Linked DNA regions of Homo sapiens: all the other regions are linked to region 1. Evidence: promoter capture Hi-C in 16 types of primary human blood cells and fetal thymus (Javierre and others, 2016). All regions are on one chromosome and are shown on one strand. Each heading gives the region's core, a stretch centred on a gene start or on the middle of the fragment in contact. The rest is flanking DNA. Distances are from core to core; before and after follow the strand shown.

The links. Contacts are between HindIII fragments. The CHiCAGO score rates a contact against its expected background, and 5 or more counts as called.
Region 2: the fragment with the promoter of CMTM8 here is called in contact with the fragment with the promoter of CNOT10 in region 1 in 2 of 17 cell types (non-activated CD4 T cells and activated CD4 T cells); the score reaches 6.0 in non-activated CD4 T cells.
Region 3: a fragment that was not itself captured here is called in contact with the fragment with the promoter of CNOT10 in region 1 in 1 of 17 cell types (neutrophils); the score reaches 8.6 in neutrophils.

The regions. Positions count from the first base shown.
Region 1 is chr3:32,683,767-32,686,921 of GRCh38, forward strand. CNOT10 (CCR4-NOT transcription complex subunit 10) reads left to right here and starts at 1,422. Exons shown (of 19, transcript NM_015442.3): 1 at 1,422-1,716. The coding sequence starts at 1,695. RefSeq lists a silencer at 1,223-1,532. The HindIII fragment of the contact is 5,126 bases long and covers 1-1,979 here.
Region 2 is chr3:32,237,057-32,240,211 of GRCh38, forward strand. It overlaps CMTM8 (CKLF like MARVEL transmembrane domain containing 8), which reads left to right and starts at 1,624. Exons shown (of 4, transcript NM_178868.5): 1 at 1,624-2,063. The coding sequence starts at 1,917. RefSeq lists a silencer at 1,428-1,637. The HindIII fragment of the contact is 4,195 bases long and covers 1-2,345 here.
Region 3 is chr3:32,383,505-32,386,659 of GRCh38, forward strand. No RefSeq gene overlaps it. Among named protein-coding and RNA genes, the nearest start is that of CMTM7, 6.8 kb to the right of the region's middle. The HindIII fragment of the contact is 6,743 bases long and covers 1-3,155 here.

The sequences.
Region 1 (3,155 bases), core at 172-2,671:
CCACCACGCCCAGCTAATTTTTGTATTTTTAGTAGAGACGGGGTTTCACCATGTTGGCCAGGCTGGTCACAAACTCCTGACCTCAAGTGATCCACTTGCCTTGGCCTCCCAAAGTGCTGGGATTGCAGGTGTGAGCCACCACGCCCGGCCAAAAACAAATACTTTTTTAAAAGAAAGTTTAAAACAAAAGTTAAAAAAAAAGAAAAAAACAGGTACAAACCTGAAAAATCTCCCAATTAACAAAGCTGGGACAATTTTAGCAACAAAATAATGTAGTATTGGAATGTAACCATTATAAGATAAACATCCATGAGTCCATACTGATATAAATAGCTAAGTGAGGGAGAAGAGGCAAACTTCCCTTGGGGAAGATAATTTATGTACATACTCCCCACTGCAGGAGGTAGAGCTTAAATACCCCGCCTTCCCACCTTGAGTGTGGGTTGCATTTATTGACTTGGTTCCAAAGTAGTGTGGAAGGGTAGGAGGAGTAATTGCACAGTAGAGAAAACTGGCAAGCACTACCTTAGAGAGGTAATCAAGGTTAACATGATCAGTGATGTCATTTTGACAGCATGTACCCTTGATTCTATGTGATGAGAACAGCCAGTCACCTTGTGGTCTTCCTCCTAAACACCCAAAACCCCAGTCTAACCATGAGAAAAATATTGGCCAAACCCAAATTGAGGCACATTCCACCAAATATCTGAGGAGTAACTCTTCAAAACTGTCAAGGTCATCAAAAACAAGAAGAATCTGAGAAACTGCCACAGCCAAAAATAGCCTAAGACGACATAATGAATAAATGCAATATGGTGTCCTGGACAGGATCCTGGAACAACAACAAAAAAAGGACATTGAAAGAAAGCTGGTAAATGTGAATAAAATGTGTAGTTTAGTGAGTAATAGTGCGCCAATCAAACTGGTTTCTTAGATGTGATCAACGTAACATAGTAAAATAATTAAGATGTTCACAATAGGAGAAACTAGGTGAGGAGACAGGAACTCTAGGTGTCATCTTTGCAACTTTTCTGCACAACTACAACTATTCTAAAATAAAAGGCGTTTCTTTTTAAACGGGAATCCTCAACAGCGCCTCTCTCATGGGGTTGCAAGAAATCAATGAGATAGTACAGACCAAGTGCAGGGCTCAGTGCTTAGCACATAAATGTCAGATGTGGTTATTGTAATATTATGTAACATTGAGGGACAAAAGCTCTGACACCTCGGTGTTTTAATTAGAGTAAGCAAAGGACAGACGCGCGTACGTCCCACCGCGTCAGCCCTGTGAACATCCAGAGGTTCCAGCCAGAGTACGTCCGGCCGGAGGCGGGGCGCGGAGGGGACGTCGGCGTGGGGCGGGGCCAGTAGCAGTTCCCACGCCGGCGCTCCAGGCGCGGCAGGCTGCCGCCCCCGGAAGTAGTGGGTACCGGGACGCCGTGAGGCGGAAGCTGTGTATGGCGGGAGGCTGTGGCGGTCCCTTGGTGGGGAAGCTGTTGCTGTTGCTAGACGACGGGAACTAGCTCTCGTCACTTCCTCAGCCCGCCGTCTGCCCACTCCTCTAGCCGGAACCTGGGGGCCCGGAGCCGGGGTAGGCACAGAGTTGTCCTCGGAGGTCCAGGACAGCGGCCAGCCCGGCGGCGGGAGTCAGGGCCACGCCACCTGCAGGGAAGAACCCGAGTCGAAGCGGGAAGATGGCTGCAGACAAGCCTGCAGGTAGGGCGCCAATGTCCCGAGCGACGAGACGGCGGGACGTGCGGGGCCGGGCGGACCCTGAACTCGGAGGCGGCGGGGCCCGGGGTGGGGACTCCAGGGCGACTTGAATTTGGGCGTGCATTTCTTTACCCCATCCTCTGTCTCGGCTGTCGCTAACATGAGTCTTCGGGCCCCGGGTCCAATAGTTGTTTTACTCAAGTGCAGTATTTGAAGTCGCCACTGGCCGCCTTTGCCCTGCTCTTCAGAATAACTCCGGCCCAAAAAGCTTAAATGTATTTTGCCGCTTCGCAGAATTTTCCGCTTCTTCGTGGGAAAAGCAGACAAGAGAAAGTCACCCTGGAGCACACATCTGCCTATAATATCGCGTGGCTGAGGCTGGGATTCACCTGGGCTGTTTTGACCACATGTGGCTTCCTCTGGTCATTGACTCCTGTGAAATTAACTTTGTAAAAACCACTTTTTTTTTTCTTGATAGAGACGGGCGGGGGTCTCGCTATGGTGCCCAGGCTGATCTCGAACTTCTGGGCCCAAGCGATCCTTCCGCCTTGGCCTCTCAAAGTAAACCACTTATTTAAAAAGGCATAAAATCCTATTGTCTCTCTACAGTCTGTGCTCCTAAAATCTTGCATTTGGTACTTAATTGCTCTAGTTCCTCGAAATTACTTAATCTCAATGGTTTTCTTTATGGATTATTGCTCCCATTCCTAGAATCTTCCACATTAAGGAATATAAAATTATTTCCTGACCTTGTCCGGAATGTTTCCCGCAAGAAATTCATATTCTTTGTGGCATCCAGGTTTTATTGGAAAGAACTTAAGTGACAGGATTTAAAAGTGATGGAACTTAAAATTTTTACAGTGAATTTAATTTAAAATTAAAGAAAAACTCAGTGTGCTGTGGATTTTAGTAGGTTCTGGTCACAATAACTGACAAATGAACTTCACTTGGAAATTAAGCCAATTCTATTTTAGGTACAGAGGAATAAAAATCATTAGAGGATCTCTTCAATAATCTAAGAAGAAAAACAACAGAACAAAGGCCTTGAGAGGGTATAAGGAATGTGCTGTGAAATTTTGGATAGGTTGTTCAGGGAAGGCCTCTGGTGAGATGATATTTGAGCAGAGATATGTAAGAAGTGAGGGAATGAGCCATAAGAAATGAGGAAAGGTGGATGAGGGAGAGACTATTAGACAGGAAAACGGCATGGCCTGTCCAAGGCTGGACCAGGGGACCAACATCTTCCTCCTTATTTTAGAATAGTGTCTGTGTTCCCCACATTTACCATTCCTACTTGCTCATACCATTGCGCTTGCCCGAAATCACCCTTTTAGACCTAAAGCCCATCCAGTTTTCAAATCCTCAGTCATAAAGCCTTCTACTTGTTCATTTATTCATTCGCAAAGATTGAGTGTTGAATAATGGATATGACACACTCCCTG
Region 2 (3,155 bases), core at 374-2,873, 450 kb before region 1:
GCTAACTTCAGCATGCATCAGTGTCTTTTGGAGGGCTTGTTCAAACACAGCTTCCTGGCTCCACCCTCAGAGTTTCTGATTCAGAGGGTCTGGGGGTGGGGCTTGAGACCTTGCATTTTTGATAAGTTCCCAGGGAACTTACCTGCTGTTGGTCCAAGGACCACTTTGAGAACTACTGCTCCAGGGAGAAGTGCTATATTTTAAATTTTAAGAATTTACCCACCAGCCCAAGGTGCTTACCAAATGCACATGGATGGAATCTCTCCAAATCTACATCTTTGCCATGCTTTTGAAGCCTTAACTTTTACTCCTGGAGGTCTTCCTGGCTAGGCCCTAGACTTAAAAGACACTAATTCCTTGTTTTATTTTATTAGATTGTCGTTTTTGCTTTCTTCTCAGCACACTTGATAAGACACTGTGAAGAAAATGTCCCTTCTGATCTCGTTTTTAACCTGTCTTGGAACAGATCAGCAGAAATGCCTTCACTGTGAATCAAAGATACCCTCGATTTATAGCCAAAGATTATTTCCTTTTCTTTTGGTGGCTTCCAGATAAAATGTTTCTTGCTACCCTTTCACAAAATAGAAGGAGGGACCAAGCGGAAGATAATCTTTTTGTTCAGAGGTCCATCTGTCAAAGCCTGCATTTTAGAGATGGCATTACTGAGGTCCAAAAACTAGAGCCACTCGCTCTGGGTCATACAGCCGATAAACGCACGCAGCCGAGCTCAGTTCTTCCCTGACCCTGTTACAAACTGCCTCACTAAATGAGGACCCCCATCCCCTTCCCATGCCAGGAAAGCACAGCTCATTTGTCCTAAAGTTAACATTACACAAATCACACCCTTCAAGCCTTCTTGAAACATTTTTTTTCCCCGAGGGTGACGGGACGGTTACGCTGATTCATCCTGGCCAGGGACCCCAAACATCTCCCCTCCTCCGGCCCAGGCGCCGTCACCCAGGCTCCACCGGTCCGCGGGACAGAGCCGCGGAGAGCGCCTGGAAGCGTCGCGCCCTCAAAGCCAAGCGATTAAGTTGGTTCCTCAAATTGTTCCCGACAGGAGGGGCAGGAAATAACACCGGGCTCTGGCGGCGGCCGCAGCAGGAGGGGGAGAAGAGCGGGCCGTCTCCCGGGCAGTGCTGGCGGCCTCTCATCGATCTCGGGTCTAAGGTCCGGCCGGGTCATCATTCCTGCCATTTCCACAGCATTCGAGGTACCACATCACCCCCTGCCTCGGTCGTCGCTCAGTCATTCCCTCCGCGCCGAGTCCTGGAGCGGCGGAGTCCCTGGAGGCCTGGGTTTCCTTAAGGGGCCCCAATGCCCGCAGCCCCCGACCCGCCCAGGTGGAAGGAAACAGGCTGCGGGCCTGGGCCAGGCGGGGCCTGACAGAAGTAAAGGCCGGGAGGGGGAGCGGAAGACGGCCAGAAGGACCCCTGCGCCCTCTCCTCCGCGCCGCCCGCCAGGCTGCCAACCCAGCCACCCTGGGTGCGACGCGGCGCCTTCTCCGCCGCTGGGAGTCGGGCAACAGGTGAAGAGGGCGGGCGTCCGCGGCGCCTCCGCGGGGCGGTCCCTCTCCTGCCCGCCTCCCGCCCGCCCCTCTCCCCGCCCCCTCCCCTCCTCCGGGCCTCCACCGCCTTCCCCGGCTGCCCGGCAGCCTCCCCTCGCTCGCTCTCCTCTTCCTCTAGGGCCCCAGCGCAGCTCGGGAGCCCGCGCACCGAGGCGCTAGGGGCACCGCGCACTAGAGGGACACCCGCCGCGCCTGGACAGCCCCCGGCGGGCGCCCCCCTCGCACCTCCTGCCCCGCGCGGGCCGCGCTCCCCTCCCCCGCGCCTGTGTCCCCAGGGCGCAGGGCCGCGCGTCCAGCCCCAGACCCGCCGGGGTCCCTGGGGACGCGCCAGCCCGGCAGTGGCTCGACGATGGAGGAGCCGCAGCGCGCCCGCTCGCACACAGTCACCACCACCGCCAGCTCCTTCGCAGAGAACTTCTCCACCAGCAGCAGCAGCTTCGCCTACGACCGGGAGTTCCTCCGCACCCTGCCCGGCTTCCTCATCGTGGCCGAGATCGTGAGTGCCGACGGGCCGGGGGTGGCGGGGGGCTCAGCTGGACCCCGGCGCGTGCTTCCGCCGTGCTTCTCGGGATGGAGCCTGCTCAGATCTTCCCGCGGGCTTTAGGGAACCGTTTTTGCTCAGCCTCGCCTTCTTCCCAAAGTGAAAGACTCTAAACAAGGTCCAGGAAACTCGGGCTGTCCTGGGAAGAAAGGGTTGTGATCCTCAGGATGTCTTGCTGTGGGAGAAATTCAGCTTGTTGGGTCCTCTCGGTGGCGGCGGCAGATCCTGGGAGCAGGAAGCTTGGCTTAGTGGCTATTGAGTTTGTGTTGAGTGTCAGAGACACCTGGTGCCTTTCTCACCTGATCTCCACGTGGATGGCCTCCTCCCTGAAAATAAAGCTTCCTAAGATCAGGGGAAGAGGAAAGGGCTTCTTTCTTTTCCTAATTATCTCCCTGGTAGTAACATTGAGGTGAGTCAGGAAAATTTTACTGAATAAAATCTGAGTGCCATAACCTATTTTAGGACCAAAGAGGTCTTTTGCATGGTGCTGTGCACATCCTGGTTTAGGCTCAGAACATTCCTGGGAAGGAGGCAGGGCATGGGCGTTCTTCTCTTCATTGGAGGGCATAGAGGCTGAAAACTCACGTGATCTTCCCAGAAGTCCCAGCCAGTCCTTCATAGCTGAGAAAGGACTGGAGTCCTGTCAGCAGTTAGAGGTGGTCACTGTTTGAGTCTTCTTCGTGTACCAGGATCTTGTCAAGCCCTTTAGATGTCCTCATACCCTCGTGTAATCCAACGACCACCCTCCCCTGTGAAGGCCTAGAGAGGGGACGTAAATCACACCGGTGGATGGTGAAGCATGGATTCAAACCCAGGCCTGCCTTTCTGCAGGGCCGTGCTCATAACTGCAAGCAGTTGAGACAGCTTCCAGCTGCCCCAGCAGTGCCCCTCTGTCATCTCTCACAGACTTTTGTTAAATATTTGGGAATTGAAAATGAGCCTATGTGGGAGTTAGAGAATGGGCACACCATCATGGTGCAGAAGTGACTGAAGACCTGGGCGGTTCCTTTGAGAAACCTGAAGTAAATCTTGTGTACCTCAAGTAGC
Region 3 (3,155 bases), core at 298-2,797, 300 kb before region 1:
CCAACCAGCTGAGCCCAGTCAAATCACAGAGCCATGAGAGATAACAATAGATTATTTTAAGCCACAAACCTTTGGGTTGCTTTGATATGCAGCAGAAAATAATTGGATTAGCAAACATTGGTATGAGTTTTCATTCCCATTGGGACAGATGGGAAAGGTTGACCCATCTGTCCCATCTGGGTTTAGAAATTTCCCAGCTTCACAGAGCTGGTAGGTGGCAGATTTAGGATTTAAACCCAAGGCAGCATGACCCTGACTGCCGAGTTTCCACACATGACTTCTTTCTATGAGCTCCCAGTCTCAAAAGAGTCAACTAAAGTGAGATATGTCACACACTTCCAGTGTGGGCAAAGGGCTGGGTGCACATACAGGAGTCAGGTAACTCACCCACATTTGCCATATTGTCTTGCCACCTATCTAGCCTCATGTAGCATCTCCCACTTCTTTGGACCTCATGCTTAAGCCTGCATGAACTTCATCCCCTCTAATCTGTCATGCCCGAGTACTTACCTGGAACTCTCTTCTCCACCCACCCAAGGCTGGTTAACACCTCTTTATCCTTCAGTATGCAGCTAAGATGGCCCCTCCTCCAGGAAGCCTTCCCTGACTTCCCCATCACATCCCTGACAGGGTAAGGTATCTCCCCATGGGCTCCCATAGTACCCCACTTTTATTCTATCATTAGCATTTTTCATACATATTGCCTGTTTTCTCAGTCTGGGCAAAGAACATGTACTCCTGTGCCTGACACAGGTCCTGGCACTTTGTCAGTGCTCAATAAATATTGCCATGGGGATTGCTCATCACTCACAGAAGGCTTCTCAGAGGCCGTAACATTTTGGCTGGACTTTGTGAGACTGGCGGGCATTTGCCAGGTTAGCAGTTTTCAACCAGGGTCATATACGCATCGAAATCACCCGCGCAACTCTTCCCAAACATGGATGTCCAGCCCCGCCTGAGCACACTGAATCAGAATCTCCAAGGCTGAGCCTGGGCAGGTATAGTTTTCATAGGTTTCACAGGTGATTGCAAATGACAGCATGGGCTAAGGAAAGATAAAAAAGAGATCTCATTATCATCATCATACTCATCATCTTACTGTCAGCAACAGTTCTCAGCATTTGACATATCTTAACCCCTTTGATCCTCACAGTGTTCATTGTCTACATAAAGCACAAATCCTAAGGTGGGCATCCACAGTCCTGTGGTATCTCTCCAGCCAAGGTCCCCAGCCCTTTTCCCCAAGTCCCCACACTCCAGCCACGCCAAAGGACTGGGAATTCCTGGAATCCGTGGTGCGGTTTCATGCCTCCTTTCTTGACATATGTCATTCCCTCTTTTGCCCACCCCATAAATTTTTAATCGCCCTTCAAGACCTAGTTCCAAGCACATATTCTTTTTTGAAACTTTCTCCTCCCAGTTCAAGACAAGCTGGTTACTCCCAGCTTTGGGCCATCCCTTACAGGGATGCTACAGCTCTGCATTAATCCCACAAATATAAACTGAGTACTACTTTGGGCCAGGCACTCTGCTAAATACTGGACACAAACAGGGAGCCGTCTAACCCAGACCTCGACTCCTCCCAACAGAGATGACAGAGATGACGACCACAGCCTCCTCGGTTATCTGACTCTATTTCCCTGTGTTGCTATGGTTACAAACTCCCTGGGGGAGGGAGTTCCTCTTCTGGGAAGTGTTCAGTCAGGCATGTGGAAGGCTCTCCGTAACATTTGCTGAGTGAGGGTTGTGAGCAAATAACAAGGTGAATCCTCCTCTCCTCCCTTCCTCTCTCAGTAAAACTTTTCCCCAGCAGCTCTCAAAATTCCTTGGATTACCTAAATCCAAGAAATCTTTTATTTCACCCTTGAAGATGGTCTTTGATGCTTATGGTTATGGAAATGGCAACGTACAGGAGTCCCTCAGCCCTCAGATAATGAAGCCTCATTGTTCGATACATAAGGACTTAGGAAAAATGATAAAATAGGTAACATTTACTACTATGAGCCAGATGCTACTCTAGACCGTTTCCATATGTCTTATCCCATTTAGATCTCGCAGTTACCCTGAGGGGTCATTTCTATTGTTGTTCCTCTTTACAGAGAAGGAAATGGAGGCTGAGAGAGGCTTGCCCAAGGTTGCACATCTAGCAAGTGATGGAACTAAGGGCCAAACCCAGGCAGTTTGGTTCCAGAGTCCTGCCTCTCAGCCACACAGCCAGGCAGCACAAAGACAAAGGTTTCAGGGTCCCACCTGGCGCTAAAGACCAGGTATCCTGGCTGGCCCCGCTGTGGTGAGTACATGCCGCTCTCCCTCTGCTGGGCCTCAGCCACTCTCTTCTGCTCTGCCTCTCCTTATTTCCTCTCATGGCCCAACCAGCCTCCTGGCTTCCACCTTCTCTCTATGTCCCAATTGCTAAACCCCTCTCAATGCCTCACATTCAAACTCCGCAGGACAGAGGATCATCAGTGGAGCTCCCACTCTTACTAGGCAAAGTTCCCTTATAAGGCCACTCCAAACACTACTGGCCAACCCACTGATGGGCTGCCCTTGGCTCAGGAGCCAGCCTGATGCAATAAATTTCCAATGGATATAAGGCAGCTGATTGGTGATTCTCAGAAGGACCTGAGAGTTTGACTGGTTTACGGAACCTAATAAACTTTTTAAAAATTCACTGGAGGCCAGGCGCGGTGGCTCACACCTGTAATCCCAGCACTTTGGGAGGCCGAGGCGGACGGATCACAAGGTCAGGAGATTGAGACCATCCTGGCTAACACGGTGAAACCCCGTCTCTACTAAAAATTCAAAAAATTAGCTGGGCATGGTGTCGGGTGCCTGTAGTCCCAGCTACTCAGGAGGCTGAGGCAGGAGAATGGCATGAACCCAGGAGGCGGAGCTTGCAGTGAGGCGAGATCGCGCCACTGCACTCCAGCTTGGGCGACAGAGTGAGACTCCATCTCAAAAATAAATAAATAAATAAATAAATAAATAAATAAATAAACAAACAAATAAAGAAATTCACTGGAAAAGGATTTTAAAGGCTGATATTGGAAGAGTTTCATGGACACCTGATGCCTTTGTCTGCCTGGCATAGCTCAGACTTCCTAACAAAATGCCATGGCCAGGTGGCTTAAACACCAGAAATTTATTTTCTCAGA